Regions from separate parts of the Homo sapiens genome. Here regions 2, 3, 4 and 5 are each linked to region 1. The links are contacts of gene promoters, found by promoter capture Hi-C in blood cells and fetal thymus (Javierre and others, 2016). All regions are on one chromosome and are shown on one strand. The core of a region is centred on a gene start or on the middle of the fragment in contact, and the rest is flanking DNA. Distances in the headings are between cores, read along the strand shown. Region 1 holds the start of PEBP4-AS1 (PEBP4 antisense RNA 1). Region 2 overlaps SLC39A14 (solute carrier family 39 member 14). Region 3 overlaps SLC39A14 (solute carrier family 39 member 14). Region 4 holds the start of LOXL2-AS1 (LOXL2 antisense RNA 1). Region 5 has its middle 11 kb from the start of PPP3CC.

Evidence for each region. Contacts are between HindIII fragments. The CHiCAGO score rates a contact against its expected background, and 5 or more counts as called.
Region 2: a contact is called between a fragment that was not itself captured here and the fragment with the promoter of PEBP4-AS1 in region 1, in 4 of 17 cell types (naive CD4 T cells, activated CD4 T cells, non-activated CD4 T cells and 1 more). The highest score is 6.8, in naive CD4 T cells.
Region 3: a contact is called between a fragment that was not itself captured here and the fragment with the promoter of PEBP4-AS1 in region 1, in 5 of 17 cell types (naive CD4 T cells, naive CD8 T cells, non-activated CD4 T cells and 2 more). The highest score is 7.5, in naive CD4 T cells.
Region 4: the fragment with the promoter of LOXL2-AS1 here is called in contact with the fragment with the promoter of PEBP4-AS1 in region 1 in 4 of 17 cell types (naive CD8 T cells, total CD4 T cells, non-activated CD4 T cells and 1 more); the score reaches 10.4 in naive CD8 T cells.
Region 5: a contact is called between a fragment that was not itself captured here and the fragment with the promoter of PEBP4-AS1 in region 1, in 5 of 17 cell types (naive CD4 T cells, M0 macrophages, M1 macrophages and 2 more). The highest score is 6.5, in naive CD4 T cells.

The regions. Positions count from the first base shown.
Region 1 is chr8:22,876,481-22,879,354 of GRCh38, reverse strand. PEBP4-AS1 (PEBP4 antisense RNA 1) reads right to left here and starts at 1,383. Exons shown (of 4, transcript NR_125433.1): 1 at 1,204-1,383. The region is part of intron 3 of PEBP4 (phosphatidylethanolamine binding protein 4); the gene reads left to right. RefSeq lists a silencer at 1,731-1,800. The HindIII fragment of the contact is 10,906 bases long and covers 1-2,874 here.
Region 2 is chr8:22,375,082-22,377,955 of GRCh38, reverse strand. All of the region lies in intron 1 of SLC39A14 (solute carrier family 39 member 14), which reads right to left. Among named protein-coding and RNA genes, the nearest start is that of SLC39A14, 9.2 kb to the right of the region's middle. The HindIII fragment of the contact is 5,847 bases long and covers 1-2,874 here.
Region 3 is chr8:22,403,031-22,405,904 of GRCh38, reverse strand. It overlaps SLC39A14 (solute carrier family 39 member 14), which reads right to left. Exons shown (of 9, transcript NM_001128431.4): 2 at 925-1,209. The coding sequence starts at 1,194. Among named protein-coding and RNA genes, the nearest start is that of PPP3CC, 37 kb to the left of the region's middle. The HindIII fragment of the contact is 5,831 bases long and covers 1-2,874 here.
Region 4 is chr8:23,334,842-23,337,715 of GRCh38, reverse strand. It overlaps LOXL2-AS1 (LOXL2 antisense RNA 1), which reads right to left and starts at 1,508. Exons shown (of 3, transcript NR_038323.1): 1 at 259-1,508. All of the region lies in intron 4 of LOXL2 (lysyl oxidase like 2), which reads left to right. RefSeq lists an enhancer at 1,464-1,713. The HindIII fragment of the contact is 1,425 bases long and covers 228-1,652 here.
Region 5 is chr8:22,428,368-22,431,241 of GRCh38, reverse strand. It overlaps a transcript of SLC39A14 not described here. Among named protein-coding and RNA genes, the nearest start is that of PPP3CC, 11 kb to the left of the region's middle. The HindIII fragment of the contact is 236 bases long and covers 1,249-1,484 here.

The DNA of each region.
Region 1 (2,874 bases), core at 134-2,633:
ATTGTGAGGCTTGAAAGTACAAGGGTGACTAAGATATAGTTCCCACCTCTGGGGCGCTCACGGCCTGGTGGGATAGGCAGTCCAGAAGCAGACATGTCGCAATGCAATATGTTGAGTGCTGTTCTGTCAACATTGAGAGCGTTGAGGCCACACTCTCGTTCTGTGGCCTCACACAGATCAGTTAAACCTCCATGTCTGGTCTTCATCGTCACTGGGGATATTTGCTTCCCTTCCTAGCTGAGATCTATTCACTGTGAGTGGGCTCTGAGATGAGATTAGGATAGAGCATAGTAAAATGTTTCCCATGGGGAAGGGCTTGTCCTCTCTTTCAGTCTCTAAAGAGATGAAGGAACACAGAGGAGATACCACCCGCCCCATAGCCACGCTAAGCTGGGAACAAGAACTATAATTTTTAGCTCATCCCCCTACCCGGTGCTCTGTGATAAGAAACCAGCCCAACATCATTCTGGATGCCCTCTTCCAGCCTCCAGGGTCTGCCCGTGGTGGCTTAACTGTGATGACAGTTAAAATGCAAGAATACTTTCAAAAGGAGGGCTATTTTCCCCTTGGCATCCAGCTTGGCCTAGACATCCAGTTTGCTCTCTGTTCCCTGAGCTCCAAGCCTCCTCTCTGATGAAGCCAGGGAATGCACCCCTGTTTGGAGATCCTGTGCTCTGCCGACTTGCTCAGGCTGGCCAGTAGCAGAGTCCGAGTGAGCATCCCAGAGGAAGGAGGCCAGAGTACCCAAACCCAGAGGTGCCAGGCCCGGAGAGGGAAGCCCTCCCCACCTGTCTGCGCTTTGTGATTAGATATGAGCAATAGGGTAACTCACAGGCAGCAATCTCAGTCACTTGGTGTGTCAGGTAAACTGACGGGCAGAAAAGTGAGAAAGCACCACTTGGAAACCCAAGGCCACTGCCACACGGCCGGGTCCTGCCACCTCTCAGAGCCCTCCCACTGAGCATGCACTGACCCTCCACCCTCTCCCGCAGAGCCCATGCTGGTCTGACCTGCAGGATGTGTTTTCCGTAGAGGCCCCCAAATACCATCTTACCAGGCCAGTCCCCTACTATATTCTCTAACCTTAAATTCCAGGGATTCCGCCCCTCCCTCCCTCCCTCCCTCCCTCTCCCCCTCCCTCTCCATGCTCACCCTCCACCCCCTTTCCCTCAGGAGCTGCTCCTGTACCTGGAGTAGATTCACCTGCAAACACTCAGCTTGCAGGAGCACAGCAGACTGGGGAGTTTCCTTTCCCAGCCAAGCTGAGTTTGGAGGGGGGTGTGGGAGGAGGTGGGGAGGGCTGGGGACACAGGTTGAGTCTCTAAAGAATGAGGACTGCATTGCCTTCTTCCCTGCCTCCTGGTTACAGCTGAGAAAGTAACCAACTTCGTGTGTGTCTGTGTGTGTGTGTGTGTGTCTGCGCACGCGTGTGCAGTGTATGGATGCACAGACGGCCCCTCCATGGTGGGGTGGGGAGCCGTTCTCTCACCCTGCAGCTTTCTGCCTCTCCCTCCACCCTCCTCCGACTCCCTGCGTCCCACACTGCAGGTGTCTCTGAGGCAGTGTTTATGTAAGCAGCTCATGTTCTGCCGAGCGACAGCGAGAAGCTGTTGTCAATTCGAGGAAAGCCCCCGGCTGCCCACATGTGTGGTTGTCCCCGTGGGTTTCATAACAGGAGGGGGAGGTGGGGAGGTGGGGTGGTGGGCCCCTGGGGTGAGGGTGGCTGGGCTCAGCCCAGCCCAGGAGCCTCCTCCCCGCTGCCAACAGTGAGCCCGCCCGTGTGTTCACAAGCTGCTGGCCTCACCTCCTCTCCTCCCAGCTAGTTTCCCAGCCATTTGGCTACGGAGAGACAAAGTCAGTGCCTCCTGGCTCTGGCTGGCTCTGCCCAAGAATGTAGTACTTGGGTCGTGCTGGGCTACTGGAGTCAGGGCAAATAACCTGACATTTTGAAGGCACAAAAGTCCCAAGGACCTGCCAACCAACCAGGAGGTTGGTTTGATTCTGACCTCAGAATCAAAACATGGACCTGACGTTTTGATTCACAATAAGGACACGTAGCCCCATCATCTTTCTATTCCAAAGTCAGCTGTCCTCACCTGGACAACTGAGGACAGGGAGAGACTGGACAAAAAGGGCTCTTAGCCATTACAGTAGAAATGGCTGGGACACCTTATCCCTGAGGCTGAGGGCTGTTTGAGGATTCCCATTCAGCACAGCCTGGTTTGAGGAGGAAAGAAAAGACCAAAACATGGTGTCCACTTGATATGTTTATAAGGGTGGAATAAACTCCCTGAAACCCAAATCATAATTCAAATAGCTAATATATATGGAGTGCTTTTCTGATCCAAGCATCATGCTATGAAATGTACATTTCAGTCCTGGCAAAGACTTAATGAAGGAGGCACTATTAGCCTCATTTTAAAGATAAGGGTCCAAGGCCCAGAGAGGTTGAATAACTAGTCCAGCCTCACACAGCAGTTAAGGGAGAGGTTCTCCTTTCTACCCTGAACATTAACAGAAATGTGTTTACATTTTCTGGCTAACCAAGCCAGATTTTGGCTTTGCTCCAAGGAAGCTAATGTCCCACCTGAGAAGTAGCTTTGTTTAAACAGTGGAGAAAATAATTCCTAACTCATTTATTTACTTCTAATTTTACACTTCAAGTGCTGTTTATTTTCACAACAACACAAGCGCTATAAACATACACTGTCATCGATGAAGCACGTTTGTGAGGTGCCCCTGGGCTGCAAGTTGAGGTAGAGACAGAACATGTCATCACTGGTAGTGCCTTCATCACTGGATGGTGACCTCTCTCCTGAGTTTCTTGCTTTTCAAGTGCTCCCAAGTATTGTCCTGCCAACCCTCTCCTGGAAT
Region 2 (2,874 bases), core at 193-2,692, 500 kb after region 1:
TGGCAGGAGAGTTGTGAACTGCAGAGAGGGAGAGCATAGCCGAGCGGGCACAGATCCAAATGGGGTATTCAGCAGGTAAGATGCTGATCAAGCATTCAGTACATCCTAGTGCAGCTCTGGGTGCAGAATCACAGAGTATGTAAAATCAGAAACACTTGCCTCTGCCTCCAGATGTTATCATCTCAAAGGCGAGTTGAGTCAAATAATCTATAGTCCACATGTGGAAATGTGTGTTAATCAGGGCCACGATAATAGGAGCAAAACCAGTGGAAAATAACCTTCACCCCAACTAAGAAAATGACTGAGAGGGTTTTTCACTGTTGGAGAAAGAAGTCATCATGAAAAGGGAAAGACTAAAATAAAACGAACTTTTTGAGGTTAGATCAGAATAAGCGTTATCAGTACAAACTCATATTCTTTAGCATACATATATACAGATAGGTGCTGAATTATCTGTTTCCTAGCTTTGTCTGCTGAGAGGACCCAGAAGCAATGATAACTGCTGTAGCAATGAACATACCTAGCAACCAGACCTTGGTTTCTAAACAGCATTCTCCAATAAAGGAAAGCAGGACTCCGTGGAGAAGTGCCTGACTCTAGGGCTGGGGCAGCGAAGTTACAAGATGAGCCTGGAATATTTTGTAGTAAAGGAAATTAAGGAAACACTTAAAAAAAAAAATGGCAGGGGCTTACCAGAAGAACACAGGAGACAACCGGAAGGAGCTCCCAAAATGGTCAAAGCTAGAACAATTTGAGCCTCAAAAAATATTATTCAACTTTAACCCACAGAACAAAATCTGATTATGAATAACCAAATGCATAAATAAATGGGGAAGCAGGGCCAGCTCTTGCTTACAAAGAATTCCAATAAATAAATGTACAAGAGGGAAATAGAGAATCATTAGTCAAACATCACAGTCATCATTGTTGCAAGCAGGGTCTACAGATGGGTGCTAAAATTAGGGGATGAAAGTACAAGGAGAAACAGGATTTGCATAGTCTCAAAGTATCTCCTGAAACTACAAAGGGAAAGAAAGATAACTTCTTCAGTTTATCCATTCAGTATTTTTTTTTTCCCCAGACATTGTCTCACTCTGTTGCCCAGGCTGGAGTGCAGTGGCTCCATCTCAGCTCACTGCAGCCTCCACCTCCCAGGTTCAAGCGATTCTCCTGTCTCAGCCTCCCGAGTAGCTGCAATTACAGGTGCATGTCACCATGCCTGGCTAATTTTTGTATTTTTAGTGGAGATGGGGTTTCACCATGTTGGCTAGGCTGGTCTTGAACTCCCGACGTCGGCCTTTGCCTGCCTCGGCCTCCCAAAATGCTAGGATTATAGGTGTGAGCCACCGTGCCTGGCCCCATTCAGTTTTTGTAAAACAACAACAACAGAAAACCCACCTTTTTTCAGTGTGGAAATCAAGCAGACACCAGCCAATCTAGATAAATGTCACCAGTAAAAAAATACTCCAACATGGCCGAGTGCAGTGGCTCACGCCTATAATCCCAACACTTTGGGAGGCTGAGGTGGGTGGATCACTTGAGCTCAGGAGTTCAAGACTAGCCTGGACAACATGGTGAAACCCTGTCTCTACTGAAAATACAAAAAAAAAAAAAAAAAAAATTAGGTGTGGTGGCTCATGCCTGTAATCCCAGCTACTTGGGAGGCTGAGGCAGGAGAATTGCTTGAAACTGGGAGGTGGAGGCTGCAGAGAGCCGAGATCACACCACTGCCCTCCAGCCTGTGCACTGAGTGAGACCCTGTCTCAAAATTAACAACAACAACAAAAAACTGTGACATGATGAATACCTCTAAAGGATGCAACATCACTTTGCGTTCCAACATTCTAGCAAGAAAAGAGGGAGAGACTGCCACAGATTGCAGCAAACTAAGGAGAAATAACTAAACAGTGTGGGATCCCATATCAGATCCTGGAAACAGCAAATGGACATTAGTGAAAATATTGGTGACGTTTAAATAAGGCCTGCAGTTTAGTTAACAGTGTTATGCCAATGTTGATTTCCTGCTCCTGATTATATAATTATACTCTGGGGTGAGGAATATAAAGGAATTCTGCTATATTTTTGCAACTCTTCTGTACATCTAAAATTAGTTCAAAAGAAAAGTTTAAAATAAAAGGAAATGGTTAAGCAAACTAAGATACAGCCATGGCTGGGTGCAGTGGCTCATGCCTGTAATCCCAGCACTTTGGTAAGCCAAGGCGGGTAGATCACCTGAGGTCGAGTTTGAGATCAGTCTGGCCAACATGGCGAAACCCCACCTCTACTAAAAACACAAAAATTAGCCGGGCATGGTGGTGCATGCCTGTAATCCCAGCTATTATTAGGGGGCGCTGAGGCAGGAGAATTGCTTGAACCTGGGAGGCGGAGGTTGCAGTGAGCCGAGATTGTGCCACTGCACTCCAGCCTGGGCAACAGAGTGAGACTCCGTCTCAAAAAAAAAAAAGATACAGCCATAAGGCAGAATAAATGCTTAGGGAGAAATTTTGATGTCGAGGTAAGATGGGTGTAGATAGCCAATTGTATCCCCTCCCCCCAAAAAAAAAACAACTGTAAGGAAATATGCCAATATGTAAAGAGAGACTGCAGCAGGATTATCGACTTTCCCCCAAATACTTTTTTGCACTTTACAATATGCATGCATTACTTTTAATAATCAGAAGGAAATAAAGTCGACAAAAATACCAAACAATTGTTTGGGGGAATTCTGTGTATAGTTAATCACATCTATTACAGTTTCTGGGAGAGACTTCTAAGGGCTGTGTTCAGACTGGAAAGGAGGCTGCTAGATGCTTCTGAGGGCTAAGGAAGGTGGCAGGAGGCTGGAGGAAGTGGACTGGTACAGAGGACATGGAC
Region 3 (2,874 bases), core at 251-2,750, 470 kb after region 1:
AGGGAACAAAGTCGATATATAAAGATTTTGCTGGCTGACTTATATTTGGCTGCCACAAATAGCCCCAGAGTCTGATTAGCAGAGATGATATGGAAGAAAGAACACAGAATCCAAAGACCTGGCGTTCCAGCCCTGGTCTCTGCAGGGACTCACTGCGGGACCCTCGGTGTCCTCTCCTATAAAATGCAGATAATCTCACCTGCACCTTGAGGGACTGTGGGCTCACCCGGGATAGTGTGTAATGGACTCTGTCAATGGTAAACTCTATGAGAAATACCGTCCTGGGAGCCGTGTTTTCTCAGTATTTCTGAGTGACTCAAGTGCGGCGCTGAGGAAGATTCTGGGGGGCTGAGAACCCCACTTCCAGGCTGCCTTTTATTTTGTTTTGTTTTGAGACAGATTCTCGCTCTGTTGCCCAGGCTGGAGTGCAATGGCTCGATCTTGGCTCACTGCAACCTCCACCTCCTGGGTTCAAGCGATTCTCTTGCCTCAGCCTCCCAAGTGGCTGGGATCACAGGCATCCGCCACCATGCCTGGCTAATTCTTGTATTTCTAGTAGAGTTGGGGTTTCACCATGTTGGCCAGGCTGATCTCGAACCCCTGACCTCAGATAATCCACCCGCCTTGGCCTCCCAAAGTGCTGGGATTACAGGCGTGAGCCACTGTGCCCAGCCCCAGGCTGCCTTTTGTTAAGGGCTTCAGAACACCTATGCAGGGGGTCAGAAGGTGCTGCAGAAGACTCAGAATTTGCTGATTCAGACAATGAGAGAGAAAGAATCAGCCTGTCCACTCTATCATCGAGACTTGTCTGCCTCATCCTACCTCTGCCAAGCTGCCAGGCTGCCCTGGGCCCAACTAGACAGGGAACCCTGAGAGGCCAGAGACGGGGCTGAGCAGAGCTGCTGGCTCACAGGGGAGCCTTACCGTGGAGAGGTTCCTGTGTCCTTGCACGTGCTGGGTGACATTACCCCGGCCCACTCCCACATCCAGGTGGTTGAGTAGGGCCTTCAGCTGCTGCAGAGTGAGGCTGTCACCCTCGCCATACCGATGTATTAGATCCTGCAGGAAGGAGGCAGCGCTGATAGCTGGTGCACCCAGGGATGAAGCGTGAGCCTCAGGGGTGGTTCTCCATAAGCCAAGCAGGGTCAGCAGGAGGCAGCTCTGGAAGGCCGGGTGCAGCAGCAGCAGCTTCATGGTGACTGAATAAACCTGTGAGAGAAAAAGGCAGGTGAAGCTGAGGCCTCTCCCTGTGTGCCGGCAACTGCGCCAGGCCCGCCCGCCACACACTGAACATGTTGAGACTATCCCTCAGTCTCTGCTTCTCTGCTCCTTCTTGAATTAGCCTTTGAGAAAAACCCTTCTTTTGAAAGCACAGAATAAAAACGAATAAAAAGGACAAATTCAACAGTTTTGACTAGATTGAAAAATGAAAAAAAAAAAAACAAACAGCAATGCGGTTATGATTTTTTTTTTTTTTTGAGACGGGAGATTCACTCGTTGCCCAGGCTGGAGTGCAGTGGCGCAATCTCAGCTCACTGCAACCTCCGCCTCCTGGGTTCAAGTGATTCTCCTGCCTCAGGCCTCCCAAGTAGCTGGTATTACAGGGGCCCGCCACCACACCCAACTAATTTTTTTCTATATTTAGTAGAGATCGGGTTTCATCATGTTGGCCAGGCTGGTCTCGAACTCGTGACCTCAGGTGATCCACCCACCTCGGCCCCCCAAAGTGCTGGAATTACAGGCGTGAGCCACTGCACCCGGCCAGTTATGATTTTTTAGAAGTCGTTTTAGAGGTACTGAAATAACCATGGATTTGACATCTTATATCTGGGGACTGCTTCAAAATAATAAAGGAGGGGGTATGAGCACACGGGTGTGGATGAGACATGATCAGGCATGAGCTGATATTCACTGGAACTAAGTGACAGGTAGATAGGAATTCATCAGACTCTCTGTCTAGTTTTTGTTTGTTTGTTTGTTTGTTTGTTTTTGAGACAGTCTTTCTGTCTCCCAGGCTAAAGTGCAGTGGCACGATCTCGGCTCACTGCAACCTCCACCTCCCAGGTTCACGCAATTCTCCTGCCTCAGCCTCCTGAGGAGCTGGGATTACAGGCATTTGCCATCACGCCTGGCTAATTTTTGTATTTTTAGTAGAGATGGGGTTTCACCATATTTGCCCGCTCGTCTCAAACTCCTGGGCTCAAGTGATCCACCCACCTCGGCCTCCCAAACTGCTGGGATTATAGGCATGAGCCACTGTGCCCGGCCCTGTCTACTTATATATGTTTGAAATGCTCTGAAATAAAGCTATTAAAAAATAAACATCGGCCGGGCACTGTGGCTCATGCCTGTAATCCCAGCACTTTGGGAGGCTGAGGTGGGTGGATCACAAGGTCAGGAGTTCGAGACCAGCTGAGCCAACATGGTAAAATCCCATCTCTACTAAAAATACAAAAAATTAGCCAGGCATGGTGGTGCACGTCTGTAATCCCAGCTATTCAGGAGGCTGAGGCAGGAGAATCGCTTGAACCTGGGAGGCAGAGGTTGCAGTGAGCCAAGATCGCGCCATTGCACTCCAGCCTGGGCGACACAGCAAGACTCCGTCTCAAAATAAATAAATAAATAAATAGGCCGGGCGCAGTGGCTCATGCCTGTAATCCCAGCACTTTGGGAGGCCAAGGCAGGCAGGTCACGAGGTCAGGAGATCGAGACCATCCTGGCTAACACAGTGAAACCCCATCTCTACTAAAAATAGAAAAAATTAGCCGGGTGTGGTGGCGGGCGCCTGTAGTCCCAGCTACTCGGGAGGCTAAGGCAGGAGAATGGCGTGAACCCTGCAGGCAGAGCCTGTGGTGAGCCAAGATTGTGCCACTG
Region 4 (2,874 bases), core at 259-2,758, 460 kb before region 1:
TAATTTTGTTCTCCCAAAAGTAGGATCCCAATACTGACATCATTTAATTGAAATGAGCTCTCTAAGCAGAGATTCTGCATTTAATGTTGCAGCTGAGGAAGTTAGAAAGGCCTCCAGCGGTTTGCCTGGTTGGTTGGCTGAAATGTGGACCAAAGTGTGGCCCACAGTGAGTGAGTAGAAATGCTGACCCTGCCTCTGTTGTGTGTAGAGGACAGAATTCAAAAGCTTAGGGAGGTTGGATGTTAGAGTGGATCTTACCTTTAAGACCTCCTCACCCACGCTGGGAAGCTCCTGAAGACATGCCTTTCACCTTGATGGTGAGAAGTAAATATATGAAAGGAGCTCCAGCCTCCTTGAGGAGCTGTGATCACTCTTCTCTGAAGGCCAGACCTCACAGCAGGAACAGCAGCCACTGAACCAGTAACCTGAATGCGACCGGAGTAATTGGCTCCAGGGTGGCGGGGGCCCCGTGGCTGTAGTACTACCAAAGGCAAGGTGGACGTGCTGACCCTATTGGACAGTGGAGTCAAAGCAGAAATCAGTCTGACTGCTGCAGACCTGTGGTGTTGGCTGGTTGATCATGATGTTCCTCGAAGTGAAATAGACAGGAAGCCTACTAAGTTCGTACTTAATCTGTATAAGCAGAAAACTTCTAGGTCAAGCAAACAAAAGTCTATCCCAAATCATAAAAGCAGAGTAGAGTCATGACCCCTCAATCCATTCCCGTACTTGAGCCAGTTTTATCAGACTGGAAGCTCTTGAATGAGGGAAAGGCTGGGTACCCTCAAGGAAGCACCCTCGTAGCCTGCCAGAAATCTATACTGTATTCTTTCTCCCAGTTCTCCAAAGACACCTTTCACCAGGATGAGCGTGCATTGGAGAAAAGGAAATAATCAGATCTTTTGGACTACTGGCCACTGGTTCTGAGCTGACAGTAATTCTAGGAGACCCAGAACATCAAAGTGGGGGCTTATGGGTTTTTAGCTTACGTCCATCTGAAACCCATTCTGTGCTATTTCCCCACTTCCGGAAAGCATCATGGAAATAGATGTACTCAGCAGCTGGCAGAATCCCACGGCATCTGCCTTCACTCTTGGCAAGGGGAGCACCGGTCGGTAGGACTCTTGGTTGAATCAGTCCAGCTCCGTGTTCTTCCTACAGTCCAGCTATTGGCCTAGCTGCCTCTTTCACAGGCAGGCTTCCCGCTCCACTCCACTCAAGGCTGCCTCACTCACTCCAGTCACTCCTCCAGTCTCCAGGTCTGGAGCGGGGTGGGCTGTCTTCCACCCTCCGTGGGCCTCCGTCTGCAGCTCAGAGGCCTGTCCCCAGTGAAACACTGGGATGGAGGAGGGGAGGGGAGGGTATCCCCTGGGAGGCCTGAACGTGCTAGAGGGTCTGCAGCACATTCCTGGGGGCTGATGTCAGAGGGATCCGGGCTGCTGGGGACAGTTGTTTGCTGTGGGCTCTGCACTCTTCATTTAGAACGCAGGACATCTGTTCCTGGAGAGGGTGGCGCTCACTGACGGCTGGAAGCAGAGGGGTTTTCCTGAGCCAAGGCAGGCGGTGAGGTCTGACCAATCCTCGAGCAGCTGGTGTTCCCCCGAGTATCTTCTCCCGCCCCTGTGTGGGCGTCATGGAACATGCTGTAAGCTTCCAAGTGCAGGGGCCTTGCAGGAAGTGTGTCTGGAGGGCAGTGGTTCCTGGAATTATTAATAGCCCTCCTGAGCAGTTCTCTGCCCTGGGCTGCCGCTGTGGTGAGCACGCACCCTGAATTTGCCAGGATAGTCCTCAGCAAGATTCCGTGTCATTGTGTTCACAAGCACACTAGAATTGTAACAAGTCTCAGATTTGGGTTAAGGAGAGATGATAACTGTGTCTGTAGGATTTGCCCTTCCTCTGTCTTCACACCCCATTCACTCTGAGACAAAGGAGGTACTTCCAGGGCTGCTGGACCAGCAGGGATGGGACCTCGCCTCTGCCCTGTCTTGGGGTCAGCCTGCCCAGCGAGTACCCTCTGCTGGCTCCTTCTGGCATCTTACTGGGTCCTGCCGTGCAGGGACAAGCACACGGGCCCTGAAAAGCTGGGTCGACATGAGCAGGTAGCAGGGCCTTCCTGGACCTCCTTTGTTTCAGATCCCACCATCATTCAGGGCCCAATTTAAAGGCTTCTCTTCCGTAAAGTCTCCCATCACTCCAACCATGGAATCCCTCCCTCCTGTCACTCTTCTTTTTTTTTCTTTAACAAATACAGTTTTATTTATTTACTTATTTATTTCACAAACTCTTATGTAGCTCTTCCTATCTCTGGGCACTGTTTTAAGTGACAAGTATTAACTCATTTAAACTGTCACAACAGGCCAGGCACTGACGCATGCCTATAATCCCAGCACTTTGGGAGGCAGAGGTGGCCAGATCACCAGAGGTCAGGACTTCGAGACCACCCTGGTCCCAGGAGACCTCAACTTCTCCAGAGTTCTAGCCTCTTCTTAAAGGGCCAGAGTCATGGGAACCCAGATGGGGTGAGGGGGTCTCCTGCCACGGCCTCCTTACAATGATATGACTTGGCATAAATTTGGATACTACCTCCAAATACAGATTTATGGTCTGGCGTGATAGCTCATCCCTGTAATCCCAACGCTTTGGGAGGCCGAGGGAGGCAGATTACCTGAGGTCAGGAGTTCGAGAGCAGCCTGGCAACACGGTGAAACACTGTCTCTACTAAAAATACAAAATTAGCCGGATGTGGTGGCAGGTACCTGTAATCCCAGCTACACGGGAGGCTGAAGCAGGAGAATTCCTTGAACCTGGGAGGTGGAGGTTGCAGTGAGTTAAGATCGCGCCAAAGCACTCCAGCCTGGGCAACAGAGTGAGACT
Region 5 (2,874 bases), core at 117-2,616, 450 kb after region 1:
GCTGAGGCAGGTGGATCATGAGGTCAGGCGATCGAGACTATCCTGGCTAACACAGTGAAACCCTGTCTCTACTAAAAATACAAAAAATTAGCCAGGTGTGGTGGCACGTGCCTGTAGTCCCAGCTACTCAGGAGGCTGAGGCAGGAGAATTGTTTGAACCCAGGAGGCAGAGGTTGCAATGAGCTGAGATCACGCCACTGCACTCCAGCCTGGGCAACAGAGGGAGACTCCATCAAAAAAAAAAAAAAAAGAGGGAATTGGGAGTCCCAGACCGGCTGCGGCAGCTCGCCCCTATAATCCCAGCACTTTGGGAGGCCGAGATGGGCGGATTACTTGAGGCCAGGAGTTAAAGACCAGCCTGGCCAACATGGTAAAACCTTGTTTCTACTAAAAACACAACGATTAGCTGGGCATGATGGCACAGGCTTGTAATCCCAACTACACAGGAGGCTGAAACAAGAGAATGGCTTGAACCCAGGAGGTGGAGTTTGCAGCGAGCCGAGATCACACCACTGCACTCCAGCCTGGACGACAGAGCAAGACCCTGTCTCCAAAACGAAAAAAAAAGAATTGGGAGCCCCAAAGCTGCCGTCACTTCCTGCTTGTGACTGTTGTTGTTTGCATCATTGCAGAACAGGAGAAAATGGTGGCAACCAGTACATAACACATTTGGTGGTTCCACAGGTAAGATACCAAGGTAAACAGCACTGGCATTCAAGTTGCTTGGACCAAAAATTTAGAATCAGGGACGCCTTTCCACACACTGTATCCTGTCAACTTCCTCCCCCTACCGTCTATTTTCCTATACAGCAGATCTTTCTAAACTTAAAGCATAAAACTGATTTGTCATTCCTCTGGTTAAAACTCTCTTGTGGTCTAAGGGCGATGGCCCACGCCTGTAATCCCAGCACTCTGGGAGGCTGAGGCAGCAGGATTACTTGAGCCCAGGACTTGGAGACCAGACTGGGCAACTTAGTGAGACCCCGTCTCTAAAAAAAAATTAAATTAGCCAGGCTGGTTGAGGTAGGTGGGAGGATCTCTTGAGTCCAGGAGTTTGAAGCTGCAGTGACCTCTGACCCCATCTCTAAAACAAACAAACAAAAACAAATGTCTTCTCCTTTCCCGAAGTGGTCTGACTCCTGTCAACTTTGAGCTCCCACCAACCTTCTTCCCTCATGTCTGCTGCAGTCCAGACAGACTGGCCTTGTTTCTGCTGTTTACACATACTGGCCTCAAATAGATGAAGCTTATTTCTGTCTCAGCATTCTTGCGTTGGCCGGCCCTTTGGCTTAGAACATTCTTCTACAGTCACAAAGCTCAACTCAGATGTCATCTGGTTAGAGCCCTTTCCTGATCACCTCTATCCCTGTCTGCCCATTCCCTACCTCACTCCCCCGTGTTAATTTATCTGTAGCACTTGGTTTTTGTTTATTTCCCCTCACTCCTTAAGGGAAGGATCTTTCACTGCTATGTCATGCCAAGCTTGGCAGAGTTGGAGCTCAACAATTTGTTGAATGAATGGATTTCATCTTACTCTTGTCTGCAGCAGAAGTTTTTCACCTGGGGCACAGGGGCTTCAGGAGATCATTCCCTTCTCGTCTACCTCCCATCCCCATGCTGCTCCCAATTATAAATGAAATTAAAGGTTGGAGTATATTTACACATGCTATGAGTGTGTATGAGCAATCATGTATTTTTCAGATTCTCAAAGGAATCCAAAGAACAAAATGTTAATTACTACTAGTACAGAGCTTTAATTTCTAAAACATTTTGCATATTTACTTCTCATTATACTTATACCTACCTTATAAGGTAGGCAGTATAAAATTATAATTTCTACTTCATAAAAATATTGAGGTGCAGAGAGGTTAAACATGTTAGAGATCACACAGATAGTCAATGATGGAATTGACATGAATCCATTCCTATGGATGCAAAATCCTGTGTTCTTTTTTTGTTTGTTTGTTTTTGAGACGGAGTCTGGCTCTGTCGCCCAGGCTGGAGTGCAGTGGTGAGATCTTGGCTCACTGCAAGCTCTGCCTCCCGGGTTCATGCCATTCTCCTGCCTCAGCCTCCCGAGTAGCTGGGACCACAGGTGCCCGCCACCACGCCCAGCCAATTTTTTGTATTTTTAGTAGAGACGGGGTTTCACCGTGTTAGCCAGGATGGTCTCGATCTCCTGACCTTGCGATCCACCCGCCTCGGCCTCCCAAAGTGCTAGGATTACAGGCGTGAGCCACCACGCCTGGCCATTCTGTGTTCTTTTTCAAGACAAAGACACAATGCAGAACTCTGGGGAAGTAAGTTTGCATTGGTTCTTACCTTCGTTTGCTCAAAAATTACCAAACATCAACACTTTTCCAAGGATTCTCCCATTTAAACTAGTTTACAAGGCTGCTTTAAGTTTTTCAGTGAAAAAACAAAATCATCAGTTAGATCAAGGCAGTCTTCCATGCAGTCAGCCTCCATTTCAAACAAAATGTTAAAAGAACACATGAACTGGCCTGGCGCAGTGGCTCATGCCTGTAATCCCAGCACTTTGGGAGGCCAGGCTGGGCGGATCACAAGGTCAAGAGATCGAGACCAGCCTGGCCAACATGGTGAAACCCTGTCTCTACCAAAAATACAAAAATTAGGTGGGTGTGGTGGCATGCGCCTGTAATCCCAGCTACTCAGGAGGGTGAGGCAGGAGAATCGCTTGAACCCGGGAGGCAGAGGTTGCAGTGAGCTGAGATCGTACCACGGCACTACAGCCTGGGCAATGGAGTGAGACTCAGTCTCAAAAAAAAAAAAAAAAAAAGAACATATGAACCGAGGAACACAAAATTTTTCTACTAAGCTAAGTTGAGCATTATTAGAAAAACAGATTTGTGG